2 separate regions of the Homo sapiens genome follow, and region 1 is linked to region 2. Evidence: promoter capture Hi-C in 16 types of primary human blood cells and fetal thymus (Javierre and others, 2016). All regions are on one chromosome and are shown on one strand. Each heading gives the region's core, a stretch centred on a gene start or on the middle of the fragment in contact. The rest is flanking DNA. Distances are from core to core; before and after follow the strand shown. Region 1 holds the start of GOT1L1 (glutamic-oxaloacetic transaminase 1 like 1). Region 2 holds the start of LSM1 (LSM1 homolog, mRNA degradation associated).

Evidence for each region. Contacts are between HindIII fragments. The CHiCAGO score rates a contact against its expected background, and 5 or more counts as called.
Region 1: a contact is called between the fragment with the promoter of GOT1L1 here and the fragment with the promoter of LSM1 in region 2, in 3 of 17 cell types (erythroblasts, megakaryocytes and M2 macrophages). The highest score is 8.9, in erythroblasts.

The regions. Positions count from the first base shown.
Region 1 is chr8:37,937,635-37,945,337 of GRCh38, forward strand. It overlaps GOT1L1 (glutamic-oxaloacetic transaminase 1 like 1), which reads right to left and starts at 2,490. Exons shown (of 9, transcript NM_152413.3): 1 at 2,281-2,490; 2 at 1,066-1,247; 3 at 4-115. The coding sequence starts at 2,395. RefSeq lists an enhancer at 1,996-2,512. The HindIII fragment of the contact is 5,963 bases long and covers 2,181-7,703 here.
Region 2 is chr8:38,172,639-38,179,746 of GRCh38, forward strand. LSM1 (LSM1 homolog, mRNA degradation associated) reads right to left here and starts at 3,855. Exons shown (of 4, transcript NM_014462.3): 1 at 3,637-3,855. The coding sequence starts at 3,682. BAG4 (BAG cochaperone 4) reads left to right here and starts at 4,217. Exons shown (of 5, transcript NM_004874.4): 1 at 4,217-4,501. The coding sequence starts at 4,232. RefSeq lists enhancers at 2,823-3,680, 3,260-3,349, 3,681-4,538, 3,760-3,909, 4,820-5,159. The HindIII fragment of the contact is 945 bases long and covers 3,560-4,504 here.

The DNA.
Region 1 (7,703 bases), core at 1,240-3,739, 240 kb before region 2:
AACCTTTTTGAGAAGAGATGATGTAAACTATACGAGCATCCTTATGCCAAGCTCTGAGAAACTGGACGCCAAGCTGGAAGGCACCACTGTCACCAACAGTGTGTACACCCCCTACCTGCCAGCAAGACATAGACACAAATAGGCCAGGTGTGGTGGCTCACACCTGTAATTCCAGCACTTTGGGAGGCTGGGGTGGGTGGATCACTCGAGGTCATGGCCAACATGTTGAAACCCCGTATCTACTAAAAATACAAAAATTAGCCGGATGTGGTGTTGGGCATGTGTAATCCCCGCTACTCAAGAGGCTGAGGCAGGAGAATCACTTGAACCCGGAAGGCGGAAGTTGCAGTGAGCGGAGATCAGGCCACTGCACTCCAGTCTGGGTGACAGAGTGAGACTCCGTCTCAAAAAAATAATAAGTAAATAAACATTAAAAAATAAAAAGAAATAGACAGAAATAACACTCTAAAACAGTAATGGAGGCGAGACGCAGTAGCTCATGCCTGTAATCCCAGCACTTTGGGAGGACGAGGCAGGGAATCCCCTGAGGCCAGGAGTTTGAGACCAGCCTGGCCAACATGGTGAAACCCTGTCTCTACAAAAAATACAAAAATTAGCTGGGCGTGATGGCACATGCCTGTGATTCCAGCTACTCAGGAGGATGCAGCACCAGAATTGCTTGAACCTGGGAGGTGGAGGTTGCAGTGAGCTGAGATGGCACCACTGCACTCTAGCCTGGGTGACAGAGTGAGACTCTGTCTCAAAAAATATATATAATAGGTTAAAAAATAAAACAGTAATGGGAATACTAACACCACCTCCAATTCAGATCATTCCTGTCTTGAAAGAGCTTTCAAATCAGCAGTGTGAGCAGGTGGGAATACCACTGGACTGAGATTCCGATCCTGACTCGATGGCTAAGGACTTGTGGACTCTCTGAGCCTCAGGTATCTCTTTTATCAATACCAGGGGGCCCTCCGAGGTCCCCTTCGGGTTTAAGGTTGTGCAGACCCAGATCGCCACTCTCTGTGTCTAAATGAGCCAGGGGAGGGCCCACCTTCTCACCCTGTTCTCCACAATGGCTTGGCTGTGCTTTCCAAAGAGGAGTGCTAGAGAGGCCTGGATGAATGATTTCAGGCCCATGGTGGGCAAGTACTCATAATTCAGGGAGGGATCCTGTGAAATCTGTAGTCGAGTCTTCTGCACCACGAGAGAAACCCAGGGATGGCCTTCATTTGTCATGCAGACTGTGAGGAAAACCACAGAGGGAGCTCCAGATGCCTGGTTTGGGCCCCCAGGGCTGAGCTCTGCAGACAGCCTGCAAACAAATCTCTCCTGGACTCCATGGGGCTGTGGGAAGGTGCCTGTGAAAATACAACTTTCCCTTTTCTTTTCTCCTTGATGAAAAGAATATGCTGTTAGTGAATGTGTATTATTTTTGTCTTTTTAAAAAAGACAACTGAAACCTATGCCATTTTAAAGGTTAAAAATTATACAAGCCCAGGATTGGTGGCTCAGGCCTGTAATCCCAGCACTTCGGGAGGCTAAGGTGGGTGGATCACTTGAGTTCAGGAGTTCAAGATCAGCCTGGGCAACATGATGAAACCCTGTCTCTACAAAAAAATACAAAACAGCCAGACATGGTGACCAGCGCCTGTAGTCCCAGCTACTCAGGAGGCTGAGGCAAGAGGATGGTTTGAGCCCAGGAGGCAAAGGTGGCAGTGAGCTGAGATCTTGCCACTGCACTTCAGCCTGGGCAACAGAGTGAGGCCCTGTCTCAAGAAAAAAAAAAAAAAAATATATATATATATATATATATATATATATATATATATATATGCAAAATGAGAGTTATAGGTAGATGAAGCTAAATAAAGGTAACCCTGACTTTCACAGTGGTGAGCCCCAGTTGCATAGCAGAAAGCTCAATCTGGAGAACCATTCTTGGTTCAAGAACAGGAAGAGAAAGAGAAAGAGAGAGAGAGGAGGTAAGAATCTGAAGAAGTGTGGGATGGCCATGCAGGCCCCCAAGCATAGAGTTGTGGAAGAGGACATAGCTCTCACCAAATCCCTAGAAGCCCCCAGAGAAGGGCAGAGAGCATGGAATGACCTGGGACCTTATCTGCACTTTTCCCCACTGGGTAATTCTGTTAACAAGAAAAGATCTCTCCACCCACAGAAGCTTGGGCTGCACCCCTCCCCCTGCAGCAGGGAACACTGTCCTCCTAGAGGCAGTTACCATCACTTAAGTCTTATACTTCAGAACTGCTAGGCATCTACCTCTATAGGCTAAGAATATCTTGTTCGGGTAATCATCTTGTTTGTAGGTCTTTAACAAGCTGCCCTCTAGCTTGTGGGCGAGGGGCACATCCATGAACACTGAAAGGGTGGGCATAACTGAAACGAAACTGGAGCCAAGACTATGTGTCTCTGCTCCTGTGTTCCGCTTCTGCCCAGAAGTCTTCCTCCAAGGCTGGGCCGGGCAGTCCTGCCTCTTCCTGGAACCTTGGCAGCCCCAGTGCAGAGGCGCTGGACAACGGGTTGCCAGGGCAACAGAACCTCATGATCTTTGTGGTGGCGATCCACAGGGGCCACAGGAACATTCCAGGGTACTTGAGGAGAATCCCCTCAGACAGCGGGCAGGGCAGGATAACAATCTCCGGAATTCCCAAGCCCGTTTCCCTCACTCAATGCCTTCTCTTCTCTAGCCCCAGGTGGCTCAGTCCAAAGTAACAAGCCCACTCCTTAGATGACAGGGCAAGGATAATGGGAGATTACTTAACAGATACAATGTACATTGTTGGGGTTATGGATACCCTAAAAGCCCTGACTTCACCACTATGCGATGTATGCATCTAACAAAATTACACTTGTACTTCACACATTTATACAAATTAAAAAAAAAAAAAAGAAAGAAAGACATAGGGCAAGGCAGGCAGCCAATAAGCCAGATAGGGCTTCTCCTGCAGAAGCAAAAACCCCAGATCACACACCAATGCAAGTCGAGGCATTGATTTCCATTTTGCAAAGTGCCCCAGATTTCAAAAGGAATAAAAAGCAAACACTGTTTTCTTCCACAGTTGTTTTAATAAAGAATCCTATTATTAGAATATAATTGGCAACTCACTAAGCCAGTCCTATTTCTCTCAGTTATCTAGAGCCAAGACTTCTACATATGTTTGTTAAGTTTCTTTTTCTTTCTTTTTTTGGTTTTTTTTTTTTTTGAGATGGAGTCTCACTTTGTCGATAGTCTCGAACTCCTTGCCTCAGGTGATCTGCCTGCCTTGGCCTCCCAAACTGCTGGGATTACAGGCATGAGCCACCACACCTGGCCATTTGTTAAGTTTCAATGACAGCCAACTAGTAAGTATAGACAGCAGAGGCCAAGGGGAGAAAAGAGCCAGCCTCTATAGAGTCAGTCTGCATATTGCTTGCTTTCTTTTCCTTTTGATGTTTAATGACTCTCTCTTTTTTTTTTTTTTTTTTTTTGAGACAGAGTCTCGCTCTTGCTGCCCACATTGGAGTGCAGTGGTGTGATCTCGGCTCACTGCAACCTCTGCTTCCCAGGTTCAAGAGATTCTCCTGCCTCAGCCTCCCGAGTAGCTGGGATTACAGGCATGCGCCACCACACCCAACTAATTTTGTATTTTTAGTAGAGAGGGGGATTTCTCCATGTTGATCAGGCTGGTCTCAAACTCCAGACCTCAGGTGATCTGCCCACCTGGGCCTCCCAAAGTGCTGGGATTACAGGCGTGAGTCACTGCGCCCGGCTTTTTTTTGTATTTTTAGTAGAGACAGGGTTTCACCACGTTGGCCAGACTGGTCTCAAACTCCTGACCTCAAGTGATCTGCCTACCTCAGCCTCCCAAAGTGTTAGGATTACAGGCATGAGCCACCACACCCAGCCTGATGTTAAATAACTCTTTAAATGATTGTTGCAAACACTGTTGATGTCTCACCCAGAAGGCCTTCACCACCAATGTGCCCGGCCCCAGCTGCTGCTTCGCTGGTGGACAAGGCTTATATGCCTGTGTTCTCTGGAGAATTGTGCTTGGCTGGCAGGAGTCAGCTAGCCTAGAAACCACCTGGAGGTTTCACCCCCACTGACAGGGGTAGCCAATGACTGCCTGATTTAGGCATACAAAGGGTCAGCCACAGCCAGGCATGGTGGCTCACACCTGCAATCCTAGTGCTTTGGGAGACTGAGGCGGGAGGATCACTTGAGCCCAGGAGCTCAAGACCAGCCTGAGCAACATAGGGAGACCCCCCCCACCCACTCCACAAAAAATTTTAAAATTAGCTGGGCGTGGTGGTATTGCAGTGAGCTATGATCATGGCACTGCACTCCAGCCTGGTTGACAGAGTGAGATCCTGTCTTTAAAAAAAAAAAAAGGTCGGGCACGGTGGCTCACACCTGTAATCCCAGCACTTTGGAAGGCCAAGACAGGCAGATCACAAGGACAGGAGATTGAGACCATACTGGCTAATGGGGTGAAACCCCGTCTCTACTAAAAATACAAAAAAAAAATTAGCCTGGCTTGGTGGTGGGCGCATGTAGGGAGGAGGCTGAGACAGGAGAATTGCTTGAACACGGGAGGCAGAGGGCACAGTGAGCCGAGATCTCTCCACTGCACTCTAGCCTGGGTGACAGAGCGAGACTGTCTCAAAAAAAAAAAAAAAGGAAAAGAAAAAGAAAAAAGGCCAGCCCCCTTGTCTCGGTTCACCTCTGTGGCTCAATCTACACTTCAGGGCCCATTCCCCAACCAGGCGAAGCCTAGACTTGACCTGAGGCCACATCCTTGCTTGGTTCCTTCCCCTTCACAATCCTGCTTCCTTCACTCCCTTCCAGGTTCTTCCTGAAGGGCACTCCTTCCCTAAGTCACATGCCCAGGAACTCCTGTCTCAGGCTATGCTCCCAGGGAACCTGTTTTGAGGCAAATGATTATGAAAGTAGTCCGTATTATTGTAGAAAACTCAAAAGCATCAAAAAATTATAATGAAGCACACAAATTCCCTACAACCAATCCATAACTTCAGTCCGGGTGCACCTCCATCCAGTTTCTATTCTTTGACATTTATATTTTAAGGTAATTGCTATCAACATTTATGTGTCATTTTCATCATACTTTCTTCACTTAACATTTCAGCTGTGAGGATTTTATTGTGTGCCAGTGAGAACCTTTTATGCTGCAGGTAATTTAAAAAAGACCTAGTCCAAACCAGCTTGAGCAACAGAGAGAAAGTATTGGCACCTAACTGGGAGGGCCAGGGTACATCTGACTCCAGTCGGAGTTCAGTCCAGAGGGACACAGTTATCATCAGGGCCCCAGCTTCATTCTCTGGCATCCCCTTGGCTCTACTGTCCTGGATGCGTCAGGCTGGTTCTCTGGCTGACGCTGGATGTGAGAACAAAAGTGGATGGGGCCGGGCACAGTGGCTCACGCCTGTAATCCCAACACTTTGGGTGGCTGAGGCGGGCAGGTCACCTGAGGTCATGAGTTTGAGACCAGTCTGGCCAATGTGGTGAAACCCCGTCTCTACTAAAAATACAAAAATTAGCTGGGTTTGATGGCCTGTGCCTGTAATCCCAGCTACTCAGGAGACTGAGGCAGGAGAACAGCTTGAACCAGGGAGGCGGAGGTTGCAGTGAGCCGAGATTGAGCCATTGCACTCCAGCCTGGACGACAAGAGTGAAACTCCATCTCAAAAAAAAAAAAAAGTGGATGATGGATGGGATGCAGCACATAAACGAAGTGATACACACTTAAGGAATCTACATGTCAGCTTTGTTTGCAAATAAACCAAATACCAATTACCGAAGGAATGTTTAAATTAATAATGATATCCATGCAATAGAATTCTCTGAAGCCTTTAATTTTTTTTTTAATTTTTTGCAAAGGTGGGATCTTGCTATGTTGCCCAGGCTGGTCTCAAACTCCTGGCCTTAAGTGATCCTCCCACCTCATCCTCCCCATCTGCTAGGATTACAGGCACTTGAGATCCTGTCTCTACCAAAATACAAAAATTAGGCCAGCCACAGTGGCTCACACCTGTAATCCCAGCATGTTGGGAGGCAGAGGTGGGCAGATCACTTGAGGTCAGGAGTTCGAGACCAGCCTGGCCAATATGGTGAAACCCCGTCTCTACTCAGAATGCAAAAAAAGCTGGGTGTGGTGGCAGGTGCCTGTAATCCCAGCTACTAGGGAGGCTGAGGCAGGAGAATCGCTTGAACCTGGGAGACAGAAGTTGCAGTAAGCCCAGATAGCACCAGTGCACTCCAGCCTGGGTGACAGAGCAAGACTCTGTCTTAAAAAAAAAAAAAAAAAAAAAAAAGAAGTTTGTAGGGGTCCTGATATTTAAAATTTTTCCTTTATAAAACGTTTACTTTTCCTTTCCTGAATTCCCTGGGCCCCTTTGTTGTTTCTCCTTGGCTTCAGTTGAGTCCCTCGCCCATCCCTAATCTTAACATGGCTGAGAATGGAATACTCCATCAGTTTAAACCAACCACCTAGAGCCTAGGGTGGTGCCAGCCGAGAAAGATTCCCCCTGAGATTCCAGGTGCTCTTAGGAATGGGAGAGGGGAGAAGGAATTCTGGGAAGACAGTCAGCAAGTGTTCACTGCATCATTCATTACAAATTATTATTATTATTATTATTATTGTTATTATTTGAGACAGGATGTCACTCTGTCGCCCAGGCTAGAGTGCCATGGTGCGACCAAGGCTCACTGCAGCCTCAAACTTCCCAGGATCAGGCCTTAGCCTCTGGAATAGCTAGGACTATATGTATGCACCGTCAGGCCCAGCTAATTTTTCTAATTTTTGGGAGAGATGGGGTTTCACTATGTTGCCCAGGCTGTCTCAAACTCCTGGGGTCAAGTGATCCTCTTGCCTCCAAGTCCCAAAATGCTGGAATTAGACATTAGCCATTAAGCCTGGCCTCCAAATTCTTTTTCGTTGTTGTTTGTTTGTTTTTTGAGCCACAGTCTCGCTCTGTCACCCAGGCTGGAGTGCAGTGGTGCAATCTCAGCTCAGTGCAACCTCCTCCTCTCGAGTTCAAGCGATTCTCCTGCCTCTGCCTCCTGAGTAGCTGGGATTACAGGCGCACACCACCACACCCAGCTAATTTGTGTATTTTTAGAAGAGACAGGGTTTCACCATGTTGGCCAGGCTTGTCTCGAACTCCTGACCTCAAGTGATCCACCCACCTCGGCCTCCCAAAGTGCTAGGATTACAGGCATGAGCCACAGCACCTGGCCCATCAAATTCTTGAAGAGCATCACTTTTAATGGCTATTTTTTTTGTCTGTTGGCCTCACACTTCCAAATCTGGTAAAAATTCCAGGGTCCCCAGTACTGTCCCAGCAGCAGGGGGAAAAGACGTTTTTCTCTGGACAACTGCAGGCTATGTGGAGTGCCCAGGGCTGGGGAGTGGGAATGAGGAGAGGAGAGGTAAATGGAGAGGAAAGTTGGCTCATGCCAGAGGCTCTGCCTGGTAGCTGGTCAGCCAGTAAAAGGGAATGACATGCTTGTGGCCCCAAGTTCCCATCTCTCATCAGCCCAACCTCTTTTATAAGGACACCAATCCCATTCATGAAGGTGGAGCCTTCAAGACTTAATCACTTTCCAAAAAGCCCCACCTCTTAACACTCTTTTTTTTTTTGAGACAGAGTCTCACTCTGTCGCCTAGGCTGGAGTGCAGTGG
Region 2 (7,108 bases), core at 2,605-5,104:
ACACTTAAACCATCTCATGTCATGTCAGTTTTTATATCTGTAAATTGACAAATTTAATCTAGATGACTATTATCTTATTTGTAGAATTATTTTGTCCTCAAAAGATGAGCTTCTATCTCACATTTTGTTTGTAACCATAGAAGGCTTTAAATAAAAACACAATGCTTCAGGCATTTAAAATGAAGACTAATAATAAGCTAGAGCAGAAATTCAATGTTTACTGAGGGGGCATGTGCTGTTCTGGGGTCTAGACATACAGTAGAGAATGAGACTTAGAAAGTCACCAACCTTATGAATTTATATTCATGTTGGAGGAGGACAAATAAATAAGAAAATAACCTATTGTGATTAGGACAATGGAATAATAAACTAGCAAGGCAGTATGATGAAGGGAGAGAAGTGGTTACAGAAGGAAGGGTGGCAAGGGAAAGCCTCTCTGAAGAGGTGACTTTGAGCTGACACTGAAGAATGAAAATAAGCCAGTTACTAGCGCACCCAGCAAAATTTCTTTCATTCCATGCCTAAAGTACTTTCTAGATGCAGAACAGAGGAAAAACACAGTGACTCTGCCCTGAAGGAATTTATACTCTTCCTTGCGCTATAAATAAGTACCACAGAAAGCAAATCTTAATTATATGAGACTACAGAGAGAGAAACTGTATTTCTGAAGGAGGTATCAGAGTTGGACCTTAAAAGGTAGATAATTTTAGGGCACAAGAAGAGTGATAGGAAGGGGGCGGGGGGGGAGAAGGAAATCTGTAAATTAAAGAGGAGGAAAAAAGGGCTATACATCCATGTTTAGCTAAAAGCTGAGGGTGTGAAGGGAAAGAACAGTAGATAAAGTCAGAAAAGTACTGGGCGCAGGCTGCATCTGGATTTGACTTCATAGGGAACAAGAAAACATTAAGTGATGGAGTCTGTTTACTGAGTTTGTATAAGTGGGTATGTGTGAGAGGGTGGGGTGCTGAAGATGTGAGGTAAAGATGTAGGAGTTTTATGAGACATCACAAAACTATTTACCAAGAGTTGGGAATAAAAGCAGCAAGCTCAGGGTGAAGGTTATTAGCTCTTTGTGATTCTAAAGTGCTATCAGGACACTTAATAGAAACACACGCAGATAGTTGGAAACAGTAAGACTGGAAAACCAAAGACATCAAGATTAGAGAAAGCAATTTTGGATAAATCTACAAAGAGGTGATATAAAAAACTAAAGTACAGGAGATCTACTAAAGATTTAAAGAAGTAGGCCACATGTAATCCAAGTGACCATCTATTTTGGAGAACAGTAAGAGCCAGAGAAGTAAGAAAATCACCAAGTACCAGTTGTTAGAGAAATCAAGAGAAGAGAATTAAAGAATCTGGTGGGGAGAGTATCACAGTGCTGCAAAGGGGAGAGAACACAGAAGAAGACCTTAGACGAATAACTTTGAAGAATGCAGCTTGAGTAATTTCAGGATAAAAATTAGATTGCAGGAGTAATGTAAGTAGTCTATTGAAGGTGATCAAGAAACAGACAAAATGAAAATGACTCGAGGTTTGGGGATAAAGATATGAAAAAAGGGATGGGCATATGAAGAGAACGGAGAAAATATTTGAGATGGATAGACAGTAACACATGAGGGGAAGAACGCAGGGGTTGGGGAGACAGAGGATATAAAAGAAAAAGGCTAACAACGAAAAAAGGTTCCAGAAGCAGTGAGAGGAGACAGTAACAACAGACAGACAAAAAGGGAGGAATCCTTCCTACTCAAATTAAAGGATGGGTGAAAATACAGAAACACAAGGAGGAAACTGTGTGTTAGGGTTGGGGAGCAAAGGGTGCATATCAAATGGCTTCAAAGTTTTCATAAAGTAGGGGGTCTGGAATCTACAAAGAGGTAGGGGTTAGAGGACCAAAGAGCAAAACTGATTTTTAGTAAAATGGCAGGATGTGTTAGAGGATATATAAGGAGAGATGAGGGCAAAAGAGCATCCTCGAGCAACTAAAACATCCTGTTACACGTAACAGGTTCATATAGATGTTAATATATATTTAGTCCAATTACACTACATTTCCCTTACATAGCACAATAAGTAATTTGTGTTTAAAAAAATGATCTGTCGGCCGGAGGCGGTGGCTCACGCCTGTAATCCCAGTACTCTGGGAGGCCGAGGTGGGTGGATCACCTGAGGTCAGGAGTTGGAGACCAGACTGCCCAGCATGGCGAAACCTCGTCTCTACCAAAAAATGCAAAAATTAGCTGGGCGTGCTGGCAGGCGCCTGTAATCCCAGTTACTTGGGAGGCTGAGGCACAAGAATTGTTTAAACCCGGGAGGTGGAGGTTCCAGTGAGTCGAGATCGCGCCACTGCACACTACAGCCTGGGCGACAGAGCAAGACTCTGTCTCAAAAAAAAAAAAAAAAAAAGAAAAGAAAAGAAAAAAGATCTGTCAACCATAAAATGATTTTTTTTTTTTTTTTGAGACGGAGTCTTGCTCTGTCGCTCAGGCTGGAGTGCAATGGTGCGATCTCGGCTCACTGCAACCTTCTCCTCCCGGGTTCAAGCGATTCTCCCGCCTCAGCCTCCCGAGTAGCTGGGATTACAGGCACCGCCATAGTGCCCAGCTAATTGTAGGAACGGGGTTTCACCATGTTGGCTAGGCTGGTCTTGAACTCCCGACCTCAGGCGATCTGCCCGCCTCGGCCCCCCAAAGTGCTGGGATTACAGGCGTGAGCCACCGCGCCAGGCCCGTAAAATGAAATTTTAACCATAGATTCTAAATTGCGTATTCACAGAGTAACTGAGACGATTGCAACTTATTTAAAACTATGTGTAAATCATCTTGAAACAAGTTAATGAGAAAGATCACATGATTAAAACAATAAAAAATGTTGCTTGAGGAATAATGCACAGACGGAATTTAGAAAAAAGGAAAGCCAGAACAACTGCAGACGGTTCTTTTCGCTTTTGTATAGGACTGAGCTCCTCTTCCGGACAAAAACCAGGAATAAGGGAGGTCTTCTTAGTAAAAGCAAAAGTAAATTGTCTTAAAAAAAAAAAAAAGGTTGCAAGTGATTTGGTCTTTCCAGAAAAGTCAATACCATGTCTAACAGTGGTCTCTACTACAATAACCTGAAGGTGCTAATGACCCTCACAGTAAAATAAGCTAGCAAATGGCCACACCGTAGAGCGCCTACATTTACTGCCAATTAAGTCCAACTGCCGCTGTCTTAATATTTTCGCTTTTTAATGAATCCTCTCTCTAGGTATTCCGATCCATCCACCGGTAACACGCTGATACTTCGAAATACTGCAGGCAGGAGTGGACGGGGGAGAAGCCCCCCCCCTCCCCGGGCTTCTTTCGTGTTCGGGCCTCTGCTGCCGCGATCCACGGAAGCAAGAATGAGTTCCATCGCTTGGGGCTCACCAGCTAGAGGGCTGGCGGAGGCTGCGAGGGGCAGAAGTAGCAGCAGGCTACTGGGTGGGCAAGCGGTGTGTACCGCAGCTGTGGAGGACATCGACGCGGAACGCCCGGATTGAGCTCAGAACACACCGGCCCCGCCCGGGACTCATTCTACAAGCTTCTTCGGAAGAGGCGCCCGCCCGGGAGGAAGGGTCTAACCCCGGGCTCCACCGGGAGGAGATAAACTACTCACTGTCAATGTCCTCGATGAGGCTGGCGGTGCCAGGCATATAGTTCATTTTGAACTGAAATAATGCTGCAATGCACAGCGGCGGGAGGCCAGCGCGTCCAAAACCTCTTCCCTCCTACCGCAGTCGCCGCCTCGGTGGGACCAAGCCCGGAATCCCGACCGAGACCAGCACTTCTGCCCCGGCTTTCAGCCGCCGGGGGCTGCCGGAAGCTCCTCCATATTACCCTTACCCACTTCCTGTAACACGTGTGGGCCCCCAGGAAGAGGCGGGGCAGCCGTACCGTTGGGGGACACCCTTTCCCTGTTCCTGTTAAGTAGGTAAGAGGAAACTCCATTGGATAAATGGCGAGGAAACGTATACTCCCTCTTAAGGAACACGGTGTCTTCCTTCGTCTCCGGGTTCCCGAGACCCCAGAGTCACTGACCTCCGTCCCTCAGCTTTCGGGGTTCGGCAGCAGAAGGGGCGGGCCCGGGCCTGGGATTGGCTGGCGTCGTCCGACCCCCTTCGCTGCTCTCCATTCGCAATCGCCCGCGGGCGCCTGCGCGATGGGTCGGCCGTGGGGAGCGGGGCGGGAAGCGCTTCAGGGCAGCGGATCCCATGTCGGCCCTGAGGCGCTCGGGCTACGGCCCCAGTGACGGTCCGTCCTACGGCCGCTACTACGGGCCTGGGGGTGGAGATGTGCCGGTACACCCACCTCCACCCTTATATCCTCTTCGCCCTGAACCTCCCCAGCCTCCCATTTCCTGGCGGGTGCGCGGGGGCGGCCCGGCGGAGACCACCTGGCTGGGAGAAGGCGGAGGAGGCGATGGCTACTATCCCTCGGGAGGCGCCTGGCCAGAGCCTGGTCGAGCCGGAGGAAGCCACCAGGTAAGCTTTGCACCCTCTGTCCTTGCGGGGAGGTGAGGGCCCTTGGGGCTGGGGTTCGTAAAGGATCGGGTTTCATACTTGTTTTCCTTATGTGGAGGAGGGTGTGTTGCGGGGGGTGTTGGAGAGACCGAGACTAAGATCAGAGGTTGGGGGGACATGCTTGTGTTCCCTTTGCCCCTCCTTTTCTGCTTCGACCCCAAAAAATATGTTTATTACCATTTAAAAAAGAAAGATCCTGCGCGGACTTACTAAGCTTAGCAGCAGGCTGCAGATCTCTCTCCTGGGAGCGGTGCTGGGTAGGGGTGGCACGGATCTACTGCTCCAGCTCTAGCAATTTATCCTGCGTGGCTGGCAGGCCGGCTCTCCCGGGGAAGGGAAGTGGCTGCAGCCCCCGATGCCGCTCAGGGACCCTCCCGAGGGGAAGGAACCTTTGCGAGGAGGAGGGATCTGGGCATTTAGCTGTTTGCCCCTAATGCCTTGCCTGAGATCGAATCATGAATAATCAGTGTTGTAAAGTACCTTTACGCGGATTGACTGATTTAATTTTCACGGCGACTGCAAGGTAAAATGGCATTACAGCGGCCCTTTTTTTTGTTTTCGAATAAGGAACCGGGGCTCTGCGAGGTTAACTCACTTGCCTAATACACTTGGACCTGCAACATTTTATTCTCCGTTTTCCTGCCGGACATATACTTCTGCTTTGTTAATACAGTCTTCTGGGTAGTGGGTTGTCGTTCTGCGGTGGCAGCATACCTCTCTGTTCGTTCAAGAATTATCCTCATTTGTTGAAAATGTAATAGTGAAATTCTCGTACATTGCTGGTGGGGATGTAAAATGGTGGAAAATAGTTTGGTAGTTCCTCAAAACATTAAGCATTAGAATTAGTCTATGACCCAGCAAGCCCACTCCTGGCTATATACCCAAGAAAACTGATAACGTATGTTCACATAAAGCTTGTCCGCCCATGTTCATAGCATCATTATTCATAATCGCCAAAAAGTAGAAATGTCGTTTTTTTTGTTTTTTTTTTTTTTGAGTTGGAGTCTCGCTCTGTTGCCCAGGCTGGAGTGCAGTGGTGCCATCTCGGCTCACTGCAACCTCCGCCTCCCGGTTTAAGCGATTCTCCTGCCTCAGCCTCTCGAGTAGCTAGGATTACAGGCGCCGGCCATCACACCCGGCTAATTTTTGTATTTTTAGTACAGACGGGGTTTCGCCATGTTGGCCAGGATGGTCTTGAACTCCTGACCTCAAGTGATCCCCCTTTCCCCTGCCCCTCGGCCTCCCGAAGTGTTGGGATTACAGGCGTGAGCCACTGCGCTCGGCCCCAAATGTCATTTTATTATTTGAGTTATAAAGTGAGTGAACCTCTTGGAGCCCTGGTTCTTTATTCGAATACAGGAATGTTGTAAGGACATAACGACTGATGCATCGATAAACAAAATATGGTGTTAATATATTCATTCAATGGAGTATTATTTGGCCTTAGAAAGGAATGAACTGCTGATGCATGCTACAATATGAATGAACCTTGAAAACATCACACTACGTGAGCTAAGTCAGTCAGAAAGACTGCATATTGTGTGATTCCATTTATATGAAATGGCCAGAGTAGGTAAATCTAGAGACAGAAAGCTTAATGGTTGCCAGAGGTTGGGGGACTGGCGGTGTAGGTGAGAATATTCTTTTTGGGATAATGAAATGTTCTAAAATCAGGGCCTGGTGAGATGGCTCACACCTGTAATCCCAGCACTTTGAGTTGCCGAGGCTGGAGGATTGCTTGAGTCCAGGAGTTCGAGACCAGCCTGGGCAACATAGTAAGACCTTGTCTCTAAAAATAAAAAAATAAAAAACAAAAAATAAGAAATGTTCTAAAATCAGTGGTGATGGTTGCACAACTCTGAATATACTAAAAACTACTGAATTGTACATTTTAAAAGGGTAGAGTTTATAGTATGTTGATTATATCACAGTGTAAACAATTGTATGAGAAAAACATGGAGCAGTGATAAATTATTTTTTATTTTTATTTTTTATTTTTGGGACACAGTCTTGCTCTGTCGCCCAGGCTGGAATGCAGTGGCGCAATCTCAGCTCACTGCAACCTCTGCCTCCCGGGGTCAAAGTCTCCTGCTTCAGCCTTCCTAGTAGCTGGGATTACAGGCGCCTGCCACCATGCCCAACTAAATTTTGTATTTTAAGTAGAGACGGGGTTTTGTCGTGTGGGCCAGGTTGGTCTTGAACTCCTGATCTCAGGGTATCCTCCTGCCTCGGCCTCCAAAAGTGCTGGGATTACAGGTGTGAGCCACAGTGCCCGGCCAAGATTAATTATAAATTAAAGAAAGATCCAGCTGGGTGTGGTGACATGCCTGTAATCCCAGCACTTTGGGAGTCCAAGGAAGGCGGATCACCTGAGGTCAGGAGTTCGAGACCAGCCTGGCCCACATGGCAAAACCCCGTCTCTACTAAAAATACAAAAATTAGCTGGGCATGGTGGCGGGCGCCTGTAATCCCAGCTATTCGAGAGGCTGAGGCAGGAGAATCGCTTGAACCCAGGAGGCGGAGGTTGCAGTGAGCTGAGATCACACCATTCCACTCTAGCCTGGGAGA